Linked DNA regions of Homo sapiens: regions 2, 3 and 4 are each linked to region 1. The links are contacts of gene promoters, found by promoter capture Hi-C in blood cells and fetal thymus (Javierre and others, 2016). All regions are on one chromosome and are shown on one strand. Each heading gives the region's core, a stretch centred on a gene start or on the middle of the fragment in contact. The rest is flanking DNA. Distances are from core to core; before and after follow the strand shown. Region 1 holds the start of CTB-3M24.3 (a long non-coding RNA gene). Region 2 overlaps VDAC1 (voltage dependent anion channel 1). Region 3 overlaps LOC105379182 (a long non-coding RNA gene). Region 4 overlaps LOC105379182 (a long non-coding RNA gene).

The links. The method cuts DNA at HindIII sites, captures the fragments that hold promoters and counts their contacts. A CHiCAGO score of 5 or more calls a contact.
Region 2: a fragment that was not itself captured here is called in contact with the fragment with the promoter of CTB-3M24.3 in region 1 in 1 of 17 cell types (naive B cells); the score reaches 5.0 in naive B cells.
Region 3: a fragment that was not itself captured here is called in contact with the fragment with the promoter of CTB-3M24.3 in region 1 in 1 of 17 cell types (endothelial precursors); the score reaches 7.4 in endothelial precursors.
Region 4: a contact is called between a fragment that was not itself captured here and the fragment with the promoter of CTB-3M24.3 in region 1, in 1 of 17 cell types (endothelial precursors). The highest score is 9.4, in endothelial precursors.

Annotation. Positions count from the first base shown.
Region 1 is chr5:133,384,769-133,390,559 of GRCh38, forward strand. It overlaps CTB-3M24.3 (a long non-coding RNA gene), which reads left to right and starts at 3,114. Exons shown (of 3, transcript XR_948794.4): 1 at 3,114-3,202; 2 at 3,705-3,811. All of the region lies in intron 4 of FSTL4 (follistatin like 4), which reads right to left. The HindIII fragment of the contact is 3,410 bases long and covers 1,526-4,935 here.
Region 2 is chr5:133,990,150-133,995,940 of GRCh38, forward strand. It overlaps VDAC1 (voltage dependent anion channel 1), which reads right to left. Exons shown (of 9, transcript NM_003374.3): 2 at 2,797-2,869; 3 at 2,157-2,206; 4 at 853-1,005; 5 at 706-758. The coding sequence starts at 2,863. Among named protein-coding and RNA genes, the nearest start is that of VDAC1, 12 kb to the right of the region's middle. The HindIII fragment of the contact is 476 bases long and covers 2,188-2,663 here.
Region 3 is chr5:133,943,569-133,949,359 of GRCh38, forward strand. It overlaps LOC105379182 (a long non-coding RNA gene), which reads right to left. Exons shown (of 5, transcript XR_948797.3): 3 at 3,341-3,388. Among named protein-coding and RNA genes, the nearest start is that of C5orf15, 22 kb to the right of the region's middle. The HindIII fragment of the contact is 2,187 bases long and covers 1,657-3,843 here.
Region 4 is chr5:133,926,482-133,932,272 of GRCh38, forward strand. LOC105379182 (a long non-coding RNA gene) reads right to left here. Exons shown (of 5, transcript XR_948797.3): 4 at 2,319-2,456; 5 at 1-1,528. Among named protein-coding and RNA genes, the nearest start is that of WSPAR, 16 kb to the left of the region's middle. RefSeq lists enhancers at 2,210-2,259, 3,843-3,992 and a silencer at 4,213-4,292. The HindIII fragment of the contact is 271 bases long and covers 2,039-2,309 here.

The DNA.
Region 1 (5,791 bases), core at 1,864-4,363:
GAAAGTCCACACTCCTTAACCTGATGGTCCAGGTCTGGCCCCAGCTTGGCCAAAGCTCCTTTCCAGGCTTGCCCTTGCTGCTTTCTCTCTGCCCTAAACTCTATATTTGGAGAAACACCAATTGGCTTGTGGCTCCCCATGCTGGCTTCATATCCTAACCCTTGGCCTAGAAGACTCCCCTCCTCTTTCTCTAACCCATTTCTCATCATTTAGTACTCAGTCCAGATGGCACCCCCTTTTGGAGGCCTCCCTGTTCCTTCCATAACAGACTGGACGTGCTCCGTTGTCGCGCTCCCCACCCTGGTTTACAATAGGCAGGGGGTGTGTGTCCCCTCTCAGCTCCCCATGGGCAGGGCCCTCTCACACTCCTCTTGGACCCCCGCCACCGGGCCCTCGACTAGGCCTGGTACACAGCAGGCACTCAGCACTGTTTGTTGAAGCAATGAAATGCGGAATTGCAGAATCCTGCCAAGGTATGAATGGCCCAGATGCAAGAATCACAGATCTTTCTATGAAATCGTGAAACACAAGAATGAAACTTGATCGGTGCAGTGTTGAAAACAGGGACCACTACTTTACTATCCTCAGGAGTGTGAACAAACAGGCAGGATGAGGTTTAGAGCACATGCCGGTACCACTCATGGGTTCCTGTGTGATGTACACTAGAGAAGCTCTATCCCTGATCACACCCACCCTGAATTCCTTTTCCAAGACTGCCATCTCGGGCTGCCCCACAGGCTCCTGGTCCCCCTAGAACCCAACATGGGCTGCACAGAGGCTGAGTCCACTGGCAGCAAATCTAGTTAGCAGCTCGGTCCTGAGCCCACCCTGTCCACTGGCTCCTCTGAGGTGAGCCATACATAGTCCCCGGCTTTTTGCTAATTTTGAAAAAGGGAGAGACTGCGCAGGTGCTCACTGCAAGGCCTCCTTCCTTTTTTAATTACAGGAATCATTATATACATAGACAGTGTGGCATAGTAGAAGGAACAAAAACAACAAAGAAACAAAGATTTTCAAAAACCATCACAATTTCTTTGTCGAGTCAAGAGTGGCTAACAACACGGGCACATGTCAGCTACACGTGCAGAAAGTTGCCTTCAGAACACAAGTGAGAGTGCAGGCACAATCTGCCCAGTTGCTGAATGATAATCACTATGTGTGTGTGTTTTTTTTTTAAATTATACATGTAAGAGATGTGGCAGAGCAGACAGAGCAAAGACAACATTTAACATTTCAAATCAGTCTTTATTGCAGCTCTCCTCCTCACCGGTTGAGTGGTGTTGGGCAAGTCATTAAACCTCTGTGAGCCTCAGTTTCCTCACCTGCCAAGTTAGGGGTAATAACAGTCCTTACCCTGAAGGGCTGTCACAGAATTAAAGAACAGAAAGTGCACAGAATGCTCAGCCTTGGACCTGGCATGTCACATGGGCTCTTTGAGTTAGTTGTTACCCTGCCCTCCATTCTCATCCAATCTCTGGTTTTTTAAAAAGGGTAGGATGTGTAAAATCACAATCATTTGCTGCAAAGCTTGATGATTATAATCACAGCCAGCAGAGTCTCCGTGGGGCTATAGCCACAGGAATCCTGGTGGTGCCTTCACTCAAGTTCTTTCCTTCCCAGCCTTCTAGACAGGCACGCTCAACTGTGCATCTTGTTTTGTGCCAACTGTTTCTCTAAATTAGTATATGGGCTTCTGTCAGCATGTTTTACAGAGAGAAACCACATTTCTCAGCAGTGGACTTTGCCTTCCTTTTGTATAGATTCCCCATTTCTTCAGGTCTTCCTGATACCCACAGTTGTTTACCCTGAGAACCACAAAAGTTTTTAATATGGAAAGTTTGTTCCTTTAAAATTGCTAGGAGAATGTTTATTGAGACAAGCCTGGCACATAAACGAGATCTTCATGTCACTGAAATTTGGCAGGGGGCAGAGGTGGGGACACTGGCGAGAAGGAACCCAGGCAGAAGTGGAGAGACAGAAAGGTGTGACCGAGAAATATGGACGTTTTTCTTCCTGTGCAACGAAGCCCTCACCCTGTGTTTCACGTGGCATTGGCGGGGACTTTCTTCCTTTGTAATGTGCTCACTGGGGTTGTCACGTCACATAGCCACGTGGAGACAGCCACTGAAGTTCAAAGACAAGATGGGTGTAAATGTGATTCATTTCATTAAAACAACTGGATATACAATATTTGATGTCTGCGGTAACTCTAACTTCTCCTCATTTCCCTTTAGGGGAGTGAGAGTTTTTAGGTACCTGCTGTCTGATCAGTTGCAAGTGCCAAGTCTGGTGGAGGAGGAAGGAATGCAGCCATAACATCAGCAAAGCTGCATGAAGTCTTTCCCTCTGCTGCTGCCCCTGCCCTGTACCTGGTTGTTCATGTCCCACCCACCCACTCTTCCAGGTTCAGGTCAAGCCCCACTCCCTGACAAATATCTCTCCTAATCATGGGAGTGGCCACTGACACACACTGAAAGGGGATGGGCAGGTGCCAGTACTGGTGCCGTCATTTACAAGTCCAGTAACTGGGAAAGTTATCTGGCTTCTCTTTGCCTCTCAGTAAACACCAACTAGGAAAAGGAGTGCATGAGATGACGTCCATACAGCCCCTGGCGGTGGGCTGGCAGCCTGGCACATTCTCCGTGAATGAGAATGTGTATTTCCCATGATCCTATCCACCCCACCCTGATGGCCATTCCTTCTTTTCTGCAAGGCTGTGTCCCATGGTGGCCCTTTATTGCCTTGGGGGTTGAACTTCTACCTCTATCTCTTAACAGGGCAGCTCTTCTACCTTCTTTGCCTTTTCTTGGCAACAGAATTTGGCTCTTATGCATTTCTCTCTAATTGGTTAATCACATTGTATTGACTGCAACATTAGAACCAATAGTTCAGGCCTTCCCAATTGTCCTGACCATGTCACTGGCATACTGACACACGCCCATGAACAAAGGCTTCATCACACAAGGAAGACACACTATGACCCGCTGCGGTTTTCTTCCACTTCAGTTGTAGCCCTGCATGCTTTCTGGGGAGCACACTCTAGCCACCGAGATGAAGGCACGGGGAGGCCCGACCGTAGGTCGAACACGTCAGTCAGTGGCTGATCCTTCCCATGGTCTCTGGATACACCAGTGAAGGCAGGAGGTGAAGTCTCCCAGATCACCTGGGAACAGCCATGGACACTTGTCTGGGGCTGCATGAGGTTTGTTCTGGGCTCTGATGGAATATTGCCCTCATGTATGCTTTTTAACATACCGAGTCAAGGATTATGCAGGATCTGTTGAAATTCCAATAAGTCAGTCAAGAAAATTAAGCGCACTTAACCTCATCATTTACCCTTTGCAATTTTTGGTAACTATATTTGAAAAAGTTATTTAGACACCTTCTCATTTCAAGAGCCTCTGTGCTCACCTAAGCCTTGAGTTCCTCTTTGTCAGATTCTCTGATTTCTCTGTAGAATGTGAAGGGTTCATCTTTCACTTTTTTTCCCAGCCAAGAGTACACGGATGGTGTATTATTTGAACCCTTGCCCAGCAGAAAATACTTTTTATTCTTTCCATACATGGATCACCATTTGATAAGTGTAGAATTCTTGCATCATGGTCTTACCACCCCAAAATTCTACCAATGTTCTTCATTGCCTTCTTGCTTCTTAATATCGCAGAAAAGTCCAAGAACAGAATGTTTTTTTTCCTTCCTACCAGACAGTGTCTGAGACTCACCTTTGACACAAATGTAACTGAAGGGGAGAAGCTGCCCCTGGGCAAGCCGGTCAGCTGAAACCACTCAAGAGCCCCCAGTGCAACACCAGGTAGGACTTTTTTTTTTTTTGTCTGCTTTGTTTTTCTCTCTCTGGATATTTCAGATCACTTTAATTTTTTTTTTCAAAACCTAAAATGTCAGCAATTATATTTTGACTTATTTGATAGATCTTTCAGTATAGGGCACTTATTTTTTTGGATCTCTCTTTGCTTATTGTGTCCATTTGAATTGCTCTGAGGTCTTTAAGATAACCAATCACTATTATTTTAAATCTTTTATCTCTGTCTTACATAACTATCATCCTCTCCCACAGTATTTTTTAAATCTTCTTCTCATTCTCGGTGTATTTGGGGAGCGGTTTTCAAGTTTGTTCCCTGTATTGGAACAACTATGATTTCTGTATGGTTAATCTTTCCTTTGACTGCTTGAAGTGGAGAAGGAACTTCTGCAATTGTATTTCAGGTTCTTTATATTCTTTCCTTACCTCCCCCAGCTTCCATTTTATTTTTGACTGTGGCTCAGCCAATTTACAATCCCATTTTTTATCTCATTTCAGAGTTCATGTTTTCTTGCATTGGGAGTAGAACACAGTTGCTGTCTAAAATGAGCTTCTGTTTCTTGTAATAATTTTTCCCCAAAGCATGCTCTTTTGCTGCATCTTAAGTGTGTGCTCTCCTCCTCCTCTGTTGCAGAAGCCAGCTTCCCTTTCATTCGTGTTCAGACAGGTCTGTTCAGGCTTCACCTCTGTTTACTCTCACTGCAGCCCAGTGAGATTGACCAGACTGGAATTACAGCTAAATCCATGGTCACTGCCACGACATATTGCATCTGGAGAGGGGTCTTAACTTCCCTGTAACCAGCATTCATGGCTAAACAGTTGAGAGACGCCCTTGAAAATCTGGAGTTCTGCAGGTGGGTGGGAAGGAGAACAAGCAAGCTCACTCTCTGCGGAATTAGGATGATGTGTCACTGACCCTTTCTGACACCCCTGCCCCTACCCTGGTGTCCCCTTCTGAAACCTCCTCCTTTGTCTAGGGTATTTCTTCTTTTGTAGCTTTATAAGAGACATCTTCCTCGCCCCTGCTTTCCTGTCCATCACCCACCTATCCAGAAAGGTTCTGCCCTTCATATCCTCTGATGTCTCTAATCTCGGGTTCCCCAAATCATTGGACAAGCTTGCACGGGGAAAAGACTAAAGTCTCAGCTATGAGGACTCATGCAGACCTGGGTCTGTACAAGCTCCACCTGACTGGATATAAGTAAAGATCTCTGAAAATCCCTATAAAAATACCTTGGGTTTATTATATTTTGATGGAAATATGGATCACTGGATGAGCATCTGAGAAACAGAGACAAAGATGGGGTGGAGGAAGGCAGAAAGAGACAGAGATGTACAGGTGTATTGGAGGAAAAGTCAGAGAGCTAGCCAGGCCGAATGAGTGAGGGAGGCAAAGGCTCAAAGAGGCATTTGCTGGACCACTGTAGACCAGGCCTTTGGGCATACCTTAGCCAACTGAAGGGGGCATGGAGTGCACTGAACACAAGCAGTGGAAGAGAAAGCACAAGTTCCCTAAGGAAGACAAGAAAAGAGACATGGCTGCTAAGTCCCTGGATGAGCCCTTTTTTCCAGCTACAAAGAGAAGTGCACAACTGAGATCACCCTGCTTATAATAAGTGGACGGAGTTCACTGCATCTGGCTATTTTAATTACCTGCAAGCAAAGTGATTTTGCTACTTTCCTTTAGAGGAGCTTTTTGAAAGTAGTTTTCACTCTGATTACTTTCATTAACAAGTGATCAAAATGCATCAAAGCAGAAATGAGCACAACAAGAAGAAAAGCAGAGGGAAGAACTCTCTAGGAGATGTCCAAACTCAGTAGTCACTGTTAAGCTCTGTCTTCCCTCATTAGCCTGGAGAATACATGTGTTCTGGATCTGGCCCTCATGAGGCACCCAGGTGCAGGACTGGGCACAAGCTCACCTACAATCAGGAAGCATGGGTGGTTCCCGGAGACCCAGGATGCTGTACA
Region 2 (5,791 bases), core at 1,176-3,675, 600 kb after region 1:
ATGCCAAGTGATGGTCAAGAACTAACAAGCCTATTACATCTGTGGCCAGAAGGCCTGGGGAAAGTGCAGCCTCAGGAGCCACCTTGCAGTTACACCCACAGGGTCTCAGTGTCCCTAAGCAGCAGGAAGCTGGGAGAAGGACTTCCATGCCTGAAGAAATGAGGCTGGCAACAGTGACCAGTTAGGCCCTGCTTCCAAATGTCACCCACTCCCGTTTGGTCATAGCCACTTACATCACCAGCAGCCTAACTCACATGAAATGGCTATTACTGAACAGAAATCCTGCAACCTCCATGGCAGAAACTAGGAGAACACTAACAAAATGCAGAATCTTATTACAAAACACGGCTAAACACTGGTCTGAATCCTCTATTAGAAAGTGAGCTCCTTGGCGGGTAACAATCATGGCCTGGGCACCCTTAGATCTCCAGATGGGCACAGGGCCAAGCACAGGTGGCACTTAGAAATCGTTTGTTGGGTAAACACCAGTCCTGAATTAGGAAGTGCTCATTATAGCATAGTCTGTTAGTGCATAGATGTGGATACGACCCCTGGGACCAAATCAAAACCAGAGGACTTAAATCGCCAGGTCTCGGAGACCATATTTTAGGTGCTGTCAGCCCCCAAAACATTTTGTCACAAAGGGCTTCCACCACCTGCAACATCAGAGAACATCCTTGTGGAGAAAACAGATGAAACTCTTACCCAGTGTTAGGTGAGAAGGATGAATCGAAGGTCAGCTTCAGTCCACGTGCAAGCTGAACAGAAAAGAAATTTGCCACTAGATTTAGTCACAAGGCAGGCTGGCAGATGCGAATTAATAAATCCACATCTTTTCACAGCAGCCATTACCTGATCTTCCACAGTAATCTCGGTGCCTAGTGTATTGTCGGTATTCCATTTCTCTGTAAACGTCAGGCCGTACTCAGTCCATCTGTACTTGGTTTCCAGACTGCCCGTCACTTTGGTGGTCTCAGTGTTGGCTGAGCCTGAGCTTGTAAATTCCTTCAAAGGAGAGAGAAGAGTCACAGCCTGCACCATAGCACTCACTTGGCTTCACTTCACTCCTAAACACTATACTTGCCTTTCTGCAAGAGGCAAGACCCTGAATGTGGGGGGGCCAAGGCTAACTCTACAATTCAAATAGATATTTAAAGTACAGATGGGAGTAAAGGAGCCTGCTATGTAAAGAAATCTTATGGGGAATTTGTTGTCAGCAGACAGCTTCCTTCCTCCCTGTAACTCTTCAGTCTGGACAGGAAAGCATCTCCCTTCCATCCTGGCTCCAGGGCAGTACAGAGAAAAAGCACTGAGCTAAAGCTGACACAGCGGTAATTCAAACCCAAAACTTCTTTCTTCCAACAATTACTGCACACATAATTTCAAAGGGACTACTAAGATTACTTTAAAAACACTTATGTGGTTGAATGCAGGTGAATTTGAAAATAAGAAGCACAAGGAAAACTAAAACTGAGACCTGACCCATTCTCCTCTATTACCCGCTGCTGAACTGGGGGCCTACTGGCATGGTTCCCCTGGACCACCCATCATGCAGAAAATGGAATGAATGTGAAAACCACAAAAACTGCCAGAATAAAAAAAAAAAAGTACCTTCTTTTGGCTTTGCGGGCCAGGTCACGACAGTTATTTGTTGATCTACAACAAATTCCCACGTTCCATACAATGGTCACTATTTGGGTAATGGGTACACTAGAAGCCCAAACCTCACCATTACACAATACATCCATGTAACAAACCTGCACATGTACACCCTGAATCTAAAATCTTTTTTAAAAATAAAAATAAGCCAGGCGCAGTGGCTCATGCCTATAATTCCAGCACTTTGGGAGGCCAAGGTGGGCGGATCACCTGAAGTCGGGAGTTCAAGACCAGCCTGACCAACATGGAAAAACCCCGTCTCTATTAAAAATACAAAATTAGCCGAGCATGGTGGCGGGTGCCTGTAATCCCAGCTACTCGGTAGGCTGAGGTAGGAGAATCGCTTGAACCCAAGAAGTGGAGGTTGTGGTGAGCTGAGATCACGCCATTGTACTCCAGCCTGGGCGACAAGAGCAAAACTCCATCTCAAAAATAAATAAATAAAATAAAATAAAAATAAATAAATACTCATGTTCCATGTGGGTTGGACAACTTACCAATCCATTCTCAGATTTTGTTTTCAAATCAAGCTTTATTAAGCCAAATCCTAAAGAAAGAAGAAGACAACTGTCAATAGGTTAAATAACTAGAGAACAGCACCTCTGCCTCCCTCATGGTTGCTTCAGGATGCTTTTTTAAAAAGAAGCACACTCCTGCCACAGGGGCTGAGGGCACCCAGTCTCTGCTGCTGCTCGTGGGGGGAGCTCTCAGCTGCCATGGAACAGCAGCAGACAGAATGGGCACCCCCACCTGGGTCCCACCTGCACTCCCAGCAGGGTCTGATAAGAAGACACCTGACAGCTGGCAAAGACACAGTTACTGGGCCTCGTGGGCATGTGCCTAAGCACAGGCTAAATATAGAAGCCGCGCTCCACTGCAGCAGCTTCCACAGGGCTGCTCCACACTTGGAAAAGAAAACAAGAATACCCACTTGACAGCACCAATGCAGGAGCCTGTCCAACTGGGTGCACAACCAAAGTTGCTACAATTGCCACACAAATGAAAGCTTCTTTTTTCCCTCACGTGAAAGTTCAGAACAGCTGACCTACCCAGGTCTCCTAAACAGTTATCGGTAAAGTCTCAAACATGCCAACTCAGTCTGTGAGCTGAAAGGCACCCCCTCTCTGCAACACTCACCATAGCCCTTGGTGAAGACATCCCTGGCAGATTTGCCAAGATCGGCATACGTGGGTGGCACAGCCATCTTCTGCTATGATAAAAGAATCACCAGAATAAATGCATTGATAATTAGGGAAATTAGCTTTCCATCAATAACAATTATTAGATGTAATTAGCAACCAATAAAAATCACCTAGCACTAAGACTACCAGGTAGCTTATCCTCCCAGATGGGCCAAGAAGCCCTTGCTGTCTTGTCCTTCATTTTGTGGCCAGAGCTTGAGACACTCAATGAGTCTTTGTTGACAGATGATCAACAATTTAGACCTCTCCTCCTCAGCATCCCCAGGACTGAGCCCAGGCCCAGAACAGAGTAGGAGTCAGGAAATATTTGCTTAATGAATAAACTGTCAAAGACACATTCCCATGAGCCAGTGACTTTACTGAATTGTAGGACTGTTGCCAATAAAACATATCATCTTACAAAATGTCAGCTACTAGGACATTAAATGTACCGAATAGAAATCAGAGCTTTTCATGGGAACATCATTTTCCATGTGGCTCTGATTTCATTCATTCAACAAATATTTATGGAGTACCTACTATATGCCAGGATGGGCCCAACTTTTCACAAAACTTTTGGACTTTATGGGAACCCACTTCATATTTCTCATAGAGAATACAGTAAAACCAAACCAGTTTGGCAGCTCTTCACATGGAAAAAACCCAAATACATCCTCCAAATACATTAAACAAATATTTATTGAGCTCCAGTGTAACTTTATTTTTAAAACCAACCATCAAAGGACTACTTGGGATTGCTGCATATCACTAAGTCAATCAACAAACATTTATTAAGCACCTCGGTGTTCAAGGAAGGAGAGTAACTCAAATAGTCTTTGCCCTAAGGACCACACTGCATTCCTGGAAGGCTTTGCTTTGGCATGCTGTATATGCTGTGTACACAGGATTAATATCCTAATCTGGGACTGTACATGGTGTGCTCTGCCCAGGAGGAGAGGGGGTCATGCATGAGAAAGCCTCATCTCCTGCACCTTCTCCATCCCCAGAATCATTAGTCTCAACCAGAAGGACCATTCCATTCGTTTTAAAATACAGTATACCTAAATTATCAAAATTCATCTGCATATATACCATCTGAAGTTACATGTATATATATTCACACAAATAAACACATATATGACATGCTCCTGGCATGTCATATGACATGATATGCTTCCATATCATCAATGGAAGTTGCATTCTTGGCCAAAGCTTTAACTTCAAAGGCATTGCAGGAGGCCACAGACTCACTGAGTATGTTGTAAAAGAAACAGTATAAACTTCTACAATTTTAAATTGTGAAGTTGTGATCCAGGTCCTACTTTACTTTTTCCAGATGCTTTGTTAATTTTATCCCAGCTCACTTTTGTGTCAGAGCACAGACAGAAGAGCAGCGAGCTGTTTACTCTGTCCTATTTTTGTCGCTGCTGTGTTATTTCTTGCACATGATCAGGCTGAAACCATGGACAGGTCAGCCCACATTAGTATCAGGGTAGAGAGATGAGGGGGGAAGATCCATTTTACACTGCCCGCCACTGGCTCTTTCCAGTCTGGGGGCTCCCCTCTCCCCACTTGTTCCTCCCTCCCAAACTAACCCTGTAGGTGCATCCCCCCGGGATAGACCAGGAAACCACCCACCAGAACCTCAAGAAATACCCTTTACCTGACACCTTCCTAGGAGAACAACTCTGGATTGAAAGCTGAGGCAATGTAACCCCAGGCAGACACAGAACATAACAGTAACGGGCCCAGAACATTCTCCACCCGACAGGGTTAACAAACCATCAGTGAACCAAGTACCCCTCTTCAGTGCTATGCCTCCCAGGGGGGCCACAAACTCAGCCGGGGTGGGGGCTGGGGAAGCAGAAGGAGAAGCAGTCCAGTGGTAATATCTGTGGGTCACCTAAGACCTCCCTGGACCTTAGGAGCCAGAGCCTTCCCCACGACTCTCCCCTGACCCCACAGAAGAGACGCCTCCCAGACACAGCAGCCTTCACATCTGGACTGGTCCCCGCTCAGGATAAAGGCAGAGCACTCATCCATTAAATGTTCCCCAAATGCCCTCTCTCATCGCTAATCCCCAAAATCCAACAAGCACAGCCACCTGTCAAAAAACACCCCACCCACAGCAAACATCAGCCTGAAGTACAAGGCCACTAAAGAGATTACCACCCAAGGACAAGGCACTCAGAGAGCAGAGCTCAGAAGAGCAGACCGGACCCCTCCTGGGGCCTCTAGGAGCTCCGACACGGCCAAGCTCTTTTGGGGCTGTGGGGTTCCACAACACAACCATGTAGTTGGTACCAGCAGCACGCAAGTGAACTTGCTGGTTCACTAAAACATATCCCTATCCAATGCCTCACTGTAAACATACTGGATGCTGGCTTTCTCATCTGTGTCTTGCTCTCTTCCCCATCTCCTTGAACACCGACAATGAAGCATAATCTCCCCCGTTCTGGGCCCCCAAGTAAGCATTCTCCCCAGCATAGCACCTGGCAAGGAAGACTCACAGAAACCACTGGCTGAATGGAGTCAAGTCCACTCCTGGGCCTGAAGTGACACCACCGAGGACAGCAAAAGGATGACTCACCCTTTCACTAAAGGCCCCCAACTGCCAGGTAGTGGTAGCTTCCCCTCCTTTTTGTGCACTTCGGCCCATCCCCTGCTGCACTGATCTGACGGAACTAAGGAAGGCCCGAGACAGCTCTGCCGCTCCGAGAAGTTCAGCTTTCTTACAGCTACAGACAGCACCCCCAAAATGCCCATTTTTACACAGCTCTCGAACCCATTTCAGAGACAATTTTATGATAGAAATAATAATCTGCATTAATTTTCTAAGGCGAGGACTGGAGGAAAGAAAAGTCGGCAACAAAGCCTGCTTTCACTTAACACCCTGCCAGGGTGCTGACTTGAAGGCTGAACCCTGGCCCCCACCCCTCCCAGTCACTCCT
Region 3 (5,791 bases), core at 1,500-3,999, 560 kb after region 1:
GGCTGAGAAGCTGCAGACATCCGAGGGACGTGCCTTCTGAGCCAGCTGCCCCAAATGGCCAAGCAGTCTCTCAACAGCAGTGCCCATTAGCTAATGCATATAACACATCTGGGGATGGGTGCACCCCATCTGTACTTCCCACCAAATGGCTCTCAGGTTGAGGAACCGTCTGTGTATCTCTAAGGAGGCATGTTGCCAAGGACCCTACCGTGGTACCAGCATTGTCCACTGAGGCCGAAGCCATTTCTCCAAGTTCATGCCTGCCCTTTGCCCTTGGAGGAGTCAGTGGAGCTGGGGACTGAACAACAAAGGACTTCAGGTTGGGACTAATGGACCTGCAGGTGCCCTGAGATTGGGGGAGTTATGACAATCGTACTTTCTTTTCTTCTTAATTTATTTTTATTTTATTTATTTTTATTTATTTATTTATTTATTTATTTTTTGAGACGGAGTCTTGCACTGTCGCCCAGGCTAGAGTGCAGTGGTATGATCTCAGCTCACTGCAACCTCTGCCTCCCAGGTTCAACCAATTCTCCTGCCTTAGCCTCCCAAGTAGCTGGGATTACAGGCATGCTCCACCACACCTGGCTAATTTTTGTATTTTTAGTAGAGACAGGATTTCACCATGTTGGTCAGGCTGGTCTCGAACTCCTGACCTCAGGTGATCCACCCACCTCAGCCTCCCAAAGTGCTGAGATTACAGGCGTGAGCCACCGCGCCTGGCCGATAATCATGCTTTCTTTTGCCCTCACTGTCGGAGATTTGGACTTACTGCCAGAAGCATCCTTCCAGCATCCAGCAGAAACTCGAAGATGCTTTTTCCTGAGAACCCAGGTAAAGAAGGAGGTCCCCTTTATGGTGTAGTCACACTACCCCCTGCTGGACAGAAGGCAGCATGGCGATGAGGGCCTGCAGTGCCCAGCATCCATGGATATTTGCCAAGTGTCGTGGGCAAGGTATTAGACACACAGTAAGCACTCAGTAACAGTCACTTATTGTTATCGTTTAGTTGCTGTTGTTGTCATAGAGTGAGGACCACCACAGAAGATCAGAGAAAGAAGTTACTGTGAGGCAGAGGGTCGCTATCGCCTTCTGGGCTCTGCCTCTGGCTGTCTATCCCAGGGGAGATGTACGCAGAGCTCTTGAGGGGAAGAAGCTGCTTATGGGCCATCATCACCTACAAGGGCACCTCCCACTTCCACAGACGGGCTCCGATCACCTGGGCCCCAAACGCCCTTGAACTAGCCTCTGTGTTGCCAAGTTCTTTCTGCCCGTGTTCCCTGAGCAGACCCTCTGCAACCTCAGCTGGTCCCCGCACTGCAAACATTTGCTGATCTATTCAGCTCAATTTAAGCTGCAGCAGACCGAAACCTCAAGTGAGCTAACATGACCTTGCTGTTTTCATTTTCATCGAGATAAGAAAATGCCAAGATAAGTAATTGTCAGAGTTAATAATTTAAAAATGCAATAGACCTTGTAATTAAAAATAAGCTGAAGGAGGCCACAAAGTGATTGTAATAATGTTTCAAGGGCCAATCACACAAAACCCTCCTCTGGCTGTGCCAGGAGAGCTGGAAGGAAAGAATCAAACTCTTGGAGGCTCTGAGCAGTTTATGTACCAGGAAAATCCTTTTCTTAAAATCTGGTCCATCAGAAAGCTTTGGATACATTTATCCAATACTGGCCACACCTTCATGAATTTTCCCTACTTATTCATGTATCTTTTCGTTTGTTTGTTTGTTTGAGACAGAGTCACACTCCGTCACCCAGGCTGGAGTGCAGTGGCCCGATCTCTGCTCACTGCAACCTCCGCCTCCCGGGTTAAAGCGATTCTCCAGCCTCAGCTTCCCAAGTAGCTGGGATTATAGGCACCCACCACCGCACCTGACTAATTTTTTGTATTTTTAGTAGAGATGGGGTTTCACCATGTTGGCCAGGCTGGTCTTGAACTCCTGACCTCAGGCGATCCACCCGCCTCAGCTTCTCAAAGTGCTGGGGTAACAGGCGTGAGCCACAGTGCCCGGCTATTCATGTATCTTTTATCAGAAGTAATTATGGACTCCCTTTCTCCCTGGCCTAACTGGAATCTGTGGACTCTGTGGCATGCTATGTTTTCTGGTTGGAATGGGATTACTGAGTCAGGAAGCTATACCCTTCTGGTACATTCCCAAAGAATCTAACACATCACTTTGAAGCCTCAGTCCCCTCCCTCTCTGGTGAGCCTTGGCGTGTTATCAAATGGTTTCCTTGTTTCATGCAGAAGGGCTGATGAGGAAAACACTGTGCCCTTCATTGATTGGCATTCATACTTGCTCTACTGAGAGAGCAAAGAGGCCTTATACCATCACCCAGGAAGGTTGCAGCTCCCATTTCTGATGGCCACTCAGTTGGTAGCAGATCAGGCTTCCCTCTGCCTTCTTAGCTTCCAGGGCAGGATACAGCTTCCCAACTCAGTAATCCCTTTCCAACTGAAAACTTAGAATGCCACAGCATTCACAGATTTCCACTTAGAGAACCTCCTCTACAGTGTATTTTCCAGACCCAATTGTTTTATTTTTAAATCCACAAACTTTTATTATTTCATTGTAACTAATTCTGACCATCATATCATAGACTTTTCCTCCCTTAAAACACACACACACACACACACACACACACACACACACACACACACACCTGGGTTTCCTCAAAAATCTAAGCCTGTCCATGGAAGGAACATCATCATCCTGCCAGTGACAATGGATACAAGGCAGAAAAGGACTCTGCAAGCTGGTGGGAGGGCAGAGAGAGGGGATGGTGGAATCAGGACAAGATATGGTCAAGGGTGTGTCCAGGCACACCATCCTACCTGGCCTCAAGGTATTATCCACCAATGTGGTCAAGCGAACCCCAAAAAACCAGACCCAGTAACCAAGGTAGCTCTGCCTGCTTCCCTTGTTCATGACCTTAGGCCCCAAAGCCAGAGGGCTCACAAGAACATGACCAAGAAAGGAAGTCAGAGGTATATTTATAAAACTAACAAAAGGAAGCCCAGAAATCATCTTTGGAAACCTAGGAAGTCTCTGGAATCTTAGAACCTGCAGAGACCTCCCCTTCAACAGAAACGGAATTTTCAGAGAAAACATCAAGACTTTAGGGAGGTAGATTCACTTATCCAAAGAACATACAGACCCCATAAATGTTCACCCTGGCCAACAGTCTCCCTGCTCAGGGCACCTGAAACAGAACTACCACATTTCTACCCATCACAAACCCAACCACAGACTATGGGTGCCAGAAGGGCAAGAAGGGAGGGTCCAGCCCCTAGAGTAACCCAGTGATGGATCCCAAAGGGCCATACCTGATCCTATAATGTGAAATTGGTGTCCTCAAGCTCAGACATCTGTTTCTGGGAGAGAAGAGGAAAAGGAGAGGATCAGAAGGAGTCCTCAGGCTTCCAAAAAGGATAGAAGTGTGTTCTTATCTTCCACTATGGAAATACAATTGGGTCTGGGTTCTTGAGAGCCTGTGGATGGGTTAGGCAAGGCCAGGGGTCCCCCTCCAAGCAATGCTCCTGAGCTCCAAAATGAAATCTCTGGGTTCCTTTCCAAAATATGAACTTGATTTGTATGTTCTTTTCTTCAAACGTGGAAAAGATGAGCTCACTGCAATATTTTTTCTCAATTTTCTTTGGAACCAAGATTTGACCCCAGGAGCCAATCCAAGCATCATGTGTTTGGTGAACCTTTCCCTTGCCCTGTATCCCCAAAACTCAGCACAGGGCCTGGCTCAGTACAGGCAATCACTAGATGTCTATTGAATGAATGAGTTGCTTGTGGGCTCCTAGAGCAGAGTGAGACACCAAGCTTCACATTCTTTATAGGCATAGCATATCTCAGGGTAACTTTCCTGTGCTGGTGTTTCATTTGGCCATGCCTCCTTCCTAATGGGCTGAAAGACATGCCTTGTGTGTCTCCCGCTGTTGGAACAGTGTTTACTACATGGCTTTCTGCCTACAGGCCCAAGGCCAACAATCTAGCCCATGAGTTAATGACTTTCAGCAGCAAAGAAGCCCAGTAGACCTTTGAAACGGTCTACTACTCTCAACCAGGCAGCAGGGCAACCTTAACTTTTTCACTGTAAAAGGGCAGACTAATATAGGCAGAACTGGATTTGTAATAAGAAATGAACACACTCTATCTGGTGGTAACGGTAAGATGAATCATTTCCAGGATCCGAGAAAATCTTACGCCAGTGTTTATGTAGTAGAAGCTCCTTCATTTGGAGTCTGCTAAAGGCAGGGGGTTGCAAGACATTACAGCTATGCACTTACAGAGCCTAACAAGTAGTTGCCATACTGCTCATAGAGACCTGACAAAGGGTCAGAGAAAGTGGCTAGCTCTGCCTGGCGTCTGTCTCAACATCTTTGCCAACACATGCTTCACTTCATCAAGAAAGAAAGAGGGAAACTTCTGCTTCCAGCTATGATGGAGTAGTTGGTACCAGTCTAGCCCTCCCACCACGTGTTAGTTTGCTATTGCTATAAAGGAATACCTGAGGCTGGGTAATTTATAAAGAAAAGAGTTTTACTTTGGCTTATGGTTCTGCAGGCTGAACACGAAGCATGGTGCCAGCATCTGCTTCTGGTAAGGGCCTCCGGATGCTTATAATCATGGCAGAAAGCAAGTGGGGAGCAGGTGCATCACATGACAAGAGAGGGAACAAGGGTGGGAGGAGGTGCCAGGCTCCTTTAAACAACCAGCTCTTGCATGAACTAACAGAGCAAGAATGCGTTCATTACCATGGGGAGGGCATCAAGCCATTCATGAGGGACCTGCCTCCAAGACCCAAACATCTCCCACCAGGCCCCATCTCCAACACTGAGGATCACATTTCAACATTAGATTTGGAGAGTCAAACTATATCAGGCCAGGCACAGGGGCTCACGCCTGTAATCTCAGCACTTTGGGAGGCCAAGGTCGGGGGATCACTTGAGGTCAGGAGTTCAAGATCAGCCAAGGCAACATGGCGAAACGCTGTCTCTACTAAAAATACAAAAATTAGATGGGCAGTAGTGGTGTGCCCCTGTAATCCCAGCTACTCTGGAGGCTGAGGCAAGAGAATCACTTGAGCCTAGGAGGCAGAGATTGCGGTGAGCCGAGATCACGCCACTGCACTTCAGCCTGGGTGACAGAGGGAGACTCCATCTCAAAAAAAAAGAAAGAAGTTATCATTGATAGAACCTGGGTAAAGTGTACATAGGACCCCTGTATTATTTCTTCCAACTGCATGTGAATCTACAGTTTATCTCAAAGTAAAAAGGTTATATATACTCATAATATTTTATATGTTAATTATTAAATATTAAAATATATGATTAATATATTAAAATGTTTATAATATTAAATTCATATATAGCTAGATCAATATCTGGAAACACCACCAACATCCATTAACAGGAGAATGGATAAACAAATTTTGGTTTATTCACTCAATGAATACTACTCAGTGTTATTGATGAATCTCAGCAATAAAAAGGAATGACTATTGATAATTCAACAATATAGATGAATCTAAAAATTAAAAGCAAAAATATTATATAGACCAAAAGAAGCTAGACAGAAAAGAACATACACTTTTGATTCTATCTATCTGAAATTCTAGAACAGGCAGAACTAATCTATTGTGATAGAAATCAGAAAGTAGTTACCTCTGGAAGATGGGTGAAGAATTGCCTAGAAAATGGCACTAGGGAATTTTCTGGAGTGATGGAAATATCTTTTATCTTGTTTGGGGGTGGCAGTTACAAAGA
Region 4 (5,791 bases), core at 924-3,423, 540 kb after region 1:
ATCTGGATGGAAAAAGGTGCACTCGTGCCTAACTCCTCTCTTGATGTGCCGCACATGGCTCCTCTGTGCCTCCGTTACAGTCTGTGGCCCCAGGCCTCCCCACCACTGTTCCTGGCACAGCAGGGTCCCACCCTCTGGCCAAGCGCTCCACAGCACAGCCCGCAGCCCGGCGAGGGACAGCCCCACTCTGGACATAGGCTAAGAGATGGAGAGACGTTGCTGCAGTGTTGAAGCAGATGCTCCTGTGGCCCAGGAAGGCTCACCCGGGTCATAAATCCCAGCCCAATGGTGTCCCCTACCCTCAGAGGCTAGAGAAGTCCTGCCTGAGGAGCCTCGGAGCCACGTGGGTGGGTGCTGGCTGGGCAGATTGTCCCCCAGTGCCTGCTCACAAGGCAGCCTGAGCAGATGAGCCCTTACAAACACTGATTCCATTTCCATACAAATGTCTGTGGTTGTAGCAAATACACGATGGGGAGACAGCAATGTGACATAACAGCCAAGTCAGTTCTGTAGAAGATGCTTCCTGGTGTTTGGGGGGCTTCAGAGAGCTGTGTTAGCCACCTGTCAGGAATAGTGAGGGAACCAGATGGAGCTCTTTGGAGAGGCATCAAACAAGTTTGAGATAAATCTGCCTGGAAGGGGTAATGTAATCAGGCTCAGGGAGCTGCGGGTCGGGGTAGGCAGCGCTGTTCAGGAGAAGCAAATAATTAACCACAGACTGTTCCACTCAGCTCCAGGAGGGCAGCTGCCAGCTATGGGAGTTGGCTCCTTCCCCCAGAACGCCCATCCTGCTAGCGACACCCCAGGCACCCACCCCTCTAGAGCCCAGCCATCCTTCCCAAGAGGACCAGCCAGCACAAGAGCCCAGGAGGGTTTTGTTGCCAGGCCTGAGTCTTTAGCAGTGAGGTTTCAGCCCTAGGCCCTTCTCCCCTCCATGCCATCGTCTGAAAATGGTGAATGAGGGTCTTCCTTGTAAGGAAGATACCAAGGAATTGGATGGCATCCAAATTTCCCACTGCAGGATGTTTACTACTAGAAAGGAAAGAAGGAGGGAGAAAGGGAGGGAAGGGGGCGGCCTCCTAAAGTTCAAAACCAGAGGAAAACACAGGACTCGATGAAGTTAAATGGGCCCCCTTCCTGTAGGACTTAGAGATCCTGATAGATGTGTGTGGATCTATCAGGATCCTGATAGATCCTTCCCCTACATCCTCTGTGGGAGGAACAAAAGTTTGCAGATTTTTCACAAAGGATCTTGAGGACCTAGAGTCTTAGGATACATTTTGGAAAATGCTGGATCAGCCGGTTTTCTTTTTCAATGCCATGATTCAAATATAAATTAATAAATACCACTTTTACAGTCCACACTGATCCAGGGCATGGGACATGGACTCCAGGCAGGACAGCAGGGTTCCTGGCCCAGTGCTGTGTCACTATGAGCAAGTTATTTCACTCCACGCAGGCTCCGTTTCCCATCAGTGACACGGTGATCATAACGCCGACTCCAGCACTTTATACCTGTAAAGGTATTCTGGAGAAATTACAGGCACAGGCACTGTGAATATGTGGTTTGGATTCTTCTTCACTTTCAAGGAAAAAAGTGTGTGCCCTCCCTCTCTGTCTCCTTCCACGTGGATTTGAGATTACAGTCAGCACGTGTCTCCGCAAAGCAGCAATCTTTTTCAGATTAATTGATTCGATAAATATTTTCTGAGCACCCACTATGCGCCAAGCACATTCTACGCACTGAGGACACAGCAGTGAACAAAAGGAACAAAATCCCTGTCCTCCTGGGGCTGTGAGCAGACATAATAAACAACCATTTGCATAAAAAATGGACATCGGGGGCCAGGCGTGGTGGCTCATGCTTGTAATCCCAGCACCTTGAGAGGCCGAGGTGGGTGGATCACCTGAGGTCAGGAGTTCAAGACCAGCCTGTCCAACATAGTGAAACCTCATCTCTACTAAAAATACAAAAAATTAGCTGGGCATGGTGGCACGTGCCTGTAATCCCAGCGACTCGGGAGGCTGAGGTGGGAAAAGCTTGAACCCAGGAGGCAGAGTTGCAGTGAGCTGAGATCATGCCACTGCACTCCAGCCTGGGTGACAGAGTGAGACCCTGTCTCAAAAAAAAAAAGGGGGAGGGGGCGGGAATCAACAGCAATAAGATCTGAGCCCTGAAGGGGACTGAAGGATTTTTAAATAATGACAAATAAGAGAAAGGAGGGGAGGATTCAGGCTTCCACTCTGAACCGGGTCACTCAGGTTGCTGTCTGGCTTTGGGGAAGGGGAAGTTCAGCTCCCCGCAAATAAGCTTTTACCCTTGCTCCGGCCTATGCTGGATGAGGCTTTGATGGTGGCAGCTGTGGGTCCCCATGGACCCAGCCGGGTTTCTTCTCCATCAATACAGATGCTGGGGCGCTCCTCCCTCAGCCAGCTGCTCCCTATCTCCAAATTCACTTTGTGAATGAGAGAAAAAGGAAAGAATGTGAGAATCAGGTACTTTCCCCATTCAACTCTGACTCTCTGATTAACTATTTTTATCTTCCAGTTAAAATAGAGAAATAGGGGGTGGTAGAGAGTGATATAGAGTCCCTTGTGCTGATAAACAGACTTAAAATTCTAGTCAGAAACTTTTTAAGATGATTTAAAGGAAATCACTTTCTACTTTCTGGCTTGGACGTACAAAGTCCAATCTCAGTTTTGATCCCATAACACACAGAAACTTCTCAGCCAGACCAGTCCTCACACAGAGGATATGCACTGTCGGGCCCACACAGGCCCCAGAGCCTGACCAAACTGGGGAGGCCCCAGGGACAGACCATTGAGAAGGCCAAGATCACAGACTTAAGGGCCAAGCTTCGAATATGTTTCCTTCTACTTGGACTTTTGGATTGAAAATCCTGTCCTAACCCTTCCTTCCTCTTTTGAGGACATCGTTCCAGCCTCTAGGAATGGAATCTAGTGCCTCCGGGTGGGCCAAGCCCTCCAATTCACCCCCTATATTAGTGTTCATAACCTGGGTGGCTTTAAACAAAAGAAAGGTATTCTCTCAGTTCTGGAGGCCAAGTCCAAAATCACAGTATCTGCAGAACCATGTTCCCTCTGAAGGCTCCAGGTAGAATCAATTCCCTGCGTCTCCTCGCTTCTGGATCTCACCAATCTCCACCTCCATTGTCACATGGCCTTCTTATAAGGACACCAGCCGTTGATTTAGGGCCCACCCTAATCCAGTGTTACCTTATTTTAACAAACCTCATCTGTAAAGACCCTATTTTCAAATAAAGTCACATTCTGAAATAATGGGGCTAAGACTGTAACATGTCTTTTGGATGGCACAGGTCAACCCACGACAGTCCCCATACTGCCTCCAGTATGGGTACACATTCTCCAGCATCATCACAGTCTTACTCTGCTTTTTCCTCATCAGCACCTTAGACTTTGGCTGGAAGAACATTCTGGAAAGACAGGCTCAGGAGCTTTGCAGGCTCCTGGAACTGGGAAGAGTCCAGCGTATGTGGCAACTGGGCATTTGCATGTGTCACCCACAGTCTGGATCTCTCTCCTCAGCACATCCGTGGGTCCCCACTCCGCTGAGAGACCGTGGGAGGCGTTCTGGAAGCACTACACGGTGCCTCCTCTCTTCTGAGGTAGCTCAGGCAGGGCCTTGGGCCTGTAAAGCTCTGCTGGCCACATTGGCCTCCTTACCAAGAGAAATGTTTCCAGTGGCTCTGAGCCCAGCAGTGAGTCACAGCAGGGTCCCCCACCAGCAAATGTGCTGTTCCAGCTCCAATGACATTTTGAAGCTCCCTTCTCAAAGTTTCAGATGTGGTGGATGGAGGTGGACAGGAGCTTTGAGCCAAGCGAATGCAGAGGAAGTGTCAGGCTCAACAGTCCTGAATTGGAAGTGTTCAGACACCCACCCGGAAGATGGGGTGTGGAAAACCCAAGCAGCAGAGAAAGTGAAAACGCGAACGGGCATGTGGGAGTCAGCTAGTGACGATATGATTTACGTTTGTGTCAGAGCCGCCGTCCCTGCACTGCGGTGGGTGGTTTGCTTTTGTTTGTTTTAAGTTCCAGCATTGCCACTGACTATGGGATCTTGGGCAAGTAGTTAGCCTCTATCTGTGCCTCAGTTCCCTTGTCTGTCAACCAGGGGCAGAAATACTGTCACCTTAAAGGGTTGTGGGGAAGACTTGAACCCTTCAGGCAGGTAATTCAGGCAGGTAAAGAGAAGGTTAGCTCTAATCTGGCGCACACTACACCCTCGCTAAAGGGACAAGAGCTCTGAAAATGGGTGTTTGTGTCTAACTTTGGAGCTCTGGGTTGGGACACCTCCTTATACCCAAGCTGGGTCTTTGCACAGTGACTCGTGACAAATCACGTTATCAGAGACATACATAAAGACCAATATGCAAGGACGTTTCCAGCAGCATTACTAATAATAGCAAAAAAAAAAAAAAAAAAAAAAAACTGGAAACAACCCAAATAGCCCAAAAAAGGGGAAATGTATGATAGCAGATCCATGCAGGAGAATATTGTGCAGCTATTAAACAAAAGGCAGCAAACAGAACTCTCTCTACAGTGGAACCCTCATCCTGTAAACTGCATATATTCATCACTAAACAGGCAAAATCATGACTGGAGGGAAAGAGACCCGAATGGCAATAGTGCTTCCTCCTGGGTGGTGGGGTTCTGGGTAAGTCTGGTCGTCTTTGCATTCTTCCATATTTTCTAAATTTTCTAAGACGAATTGCTTTTATAGTTAGGGGGAAAAATGAGTAGGTGGTGTTTCATGAGCCACTTTCCAAGGCTGATGAGAAAGCCAGCATTGGTCAGGTTTTAGTGAGGCCTCTTTCCCTCCCTAGGGTCATGCAATATTCTTGGGGGTCCTGTACACAGCAGAACATTCAGGGAAGAGTCTCACATCACCCCTGATGTGACAGCAAGGGTGGGCCTCTGCCAGATACCCCCCTGAGGTCCTGCCAGGTCTTAGCAAGTGCCTAGGCCAGGTGTACCATTCTCTATTGCTTGCGAAACCTGCACACTGAACCACCAGCCCCTTCCCAACTTTAGGAAAAGTGTCCCAAATCTTGCAGTGAGACCAAAACAGATTCATATCCAAATACACTGTCCCCTCACTGGGGTCAGAAAAGTGTGACAAGGACAATGGACCACTGACCACTGCAGGAAGAAGCTCCAGCACCTACAGAATCAGGAAGCGTTGTGGAAAGGCCGAGGGAACCACAGCGTGAGGGCCAGGAAAGCAAGGGTGGGGTCCTGTGCAGCCCCTGAGTCTGGCACTGGGCTCAGAGGAGTAGCGAAGCCCAAGTGGAAGGAGGATACAGAGACTGCTGCGGTTAAGGGCACACTGGAGGGTTTGACCTGTCAGTCTGCAAAGATGGAGACAATGACTCCAAAGGAAACCATGGAGATCTGGAATGTGTGGCCCTGGGCCACATCTCCATCTTTCTTTCTTTTTTTTTTTTTTTTTTTTTTTTTTGCAGAGTCTTGCTCTGTCACCCAGGCTGGAGTGCAGTGGCGCGATCTCGGCTCACTGCAGCCTCCGCCTCCCGGGTTCAAGTAGTTCTTCTGCCTCAGCTTCCTGAGTAGCTGGAATTACAGGCATGCGCCACCACACCCTGCTAATTTTTTGCACTTTTAGTAGAGATGGGGTTTCACCATGTTGGCCAGGCTGGTCTCAAACTCCTGACCTCAAGAGATCCGCCCACCTCCGCCTCCCAAAGTGCTGGGATTACAGGCATGAGCCACCGTGCCCAGCCTGTCTCCATCT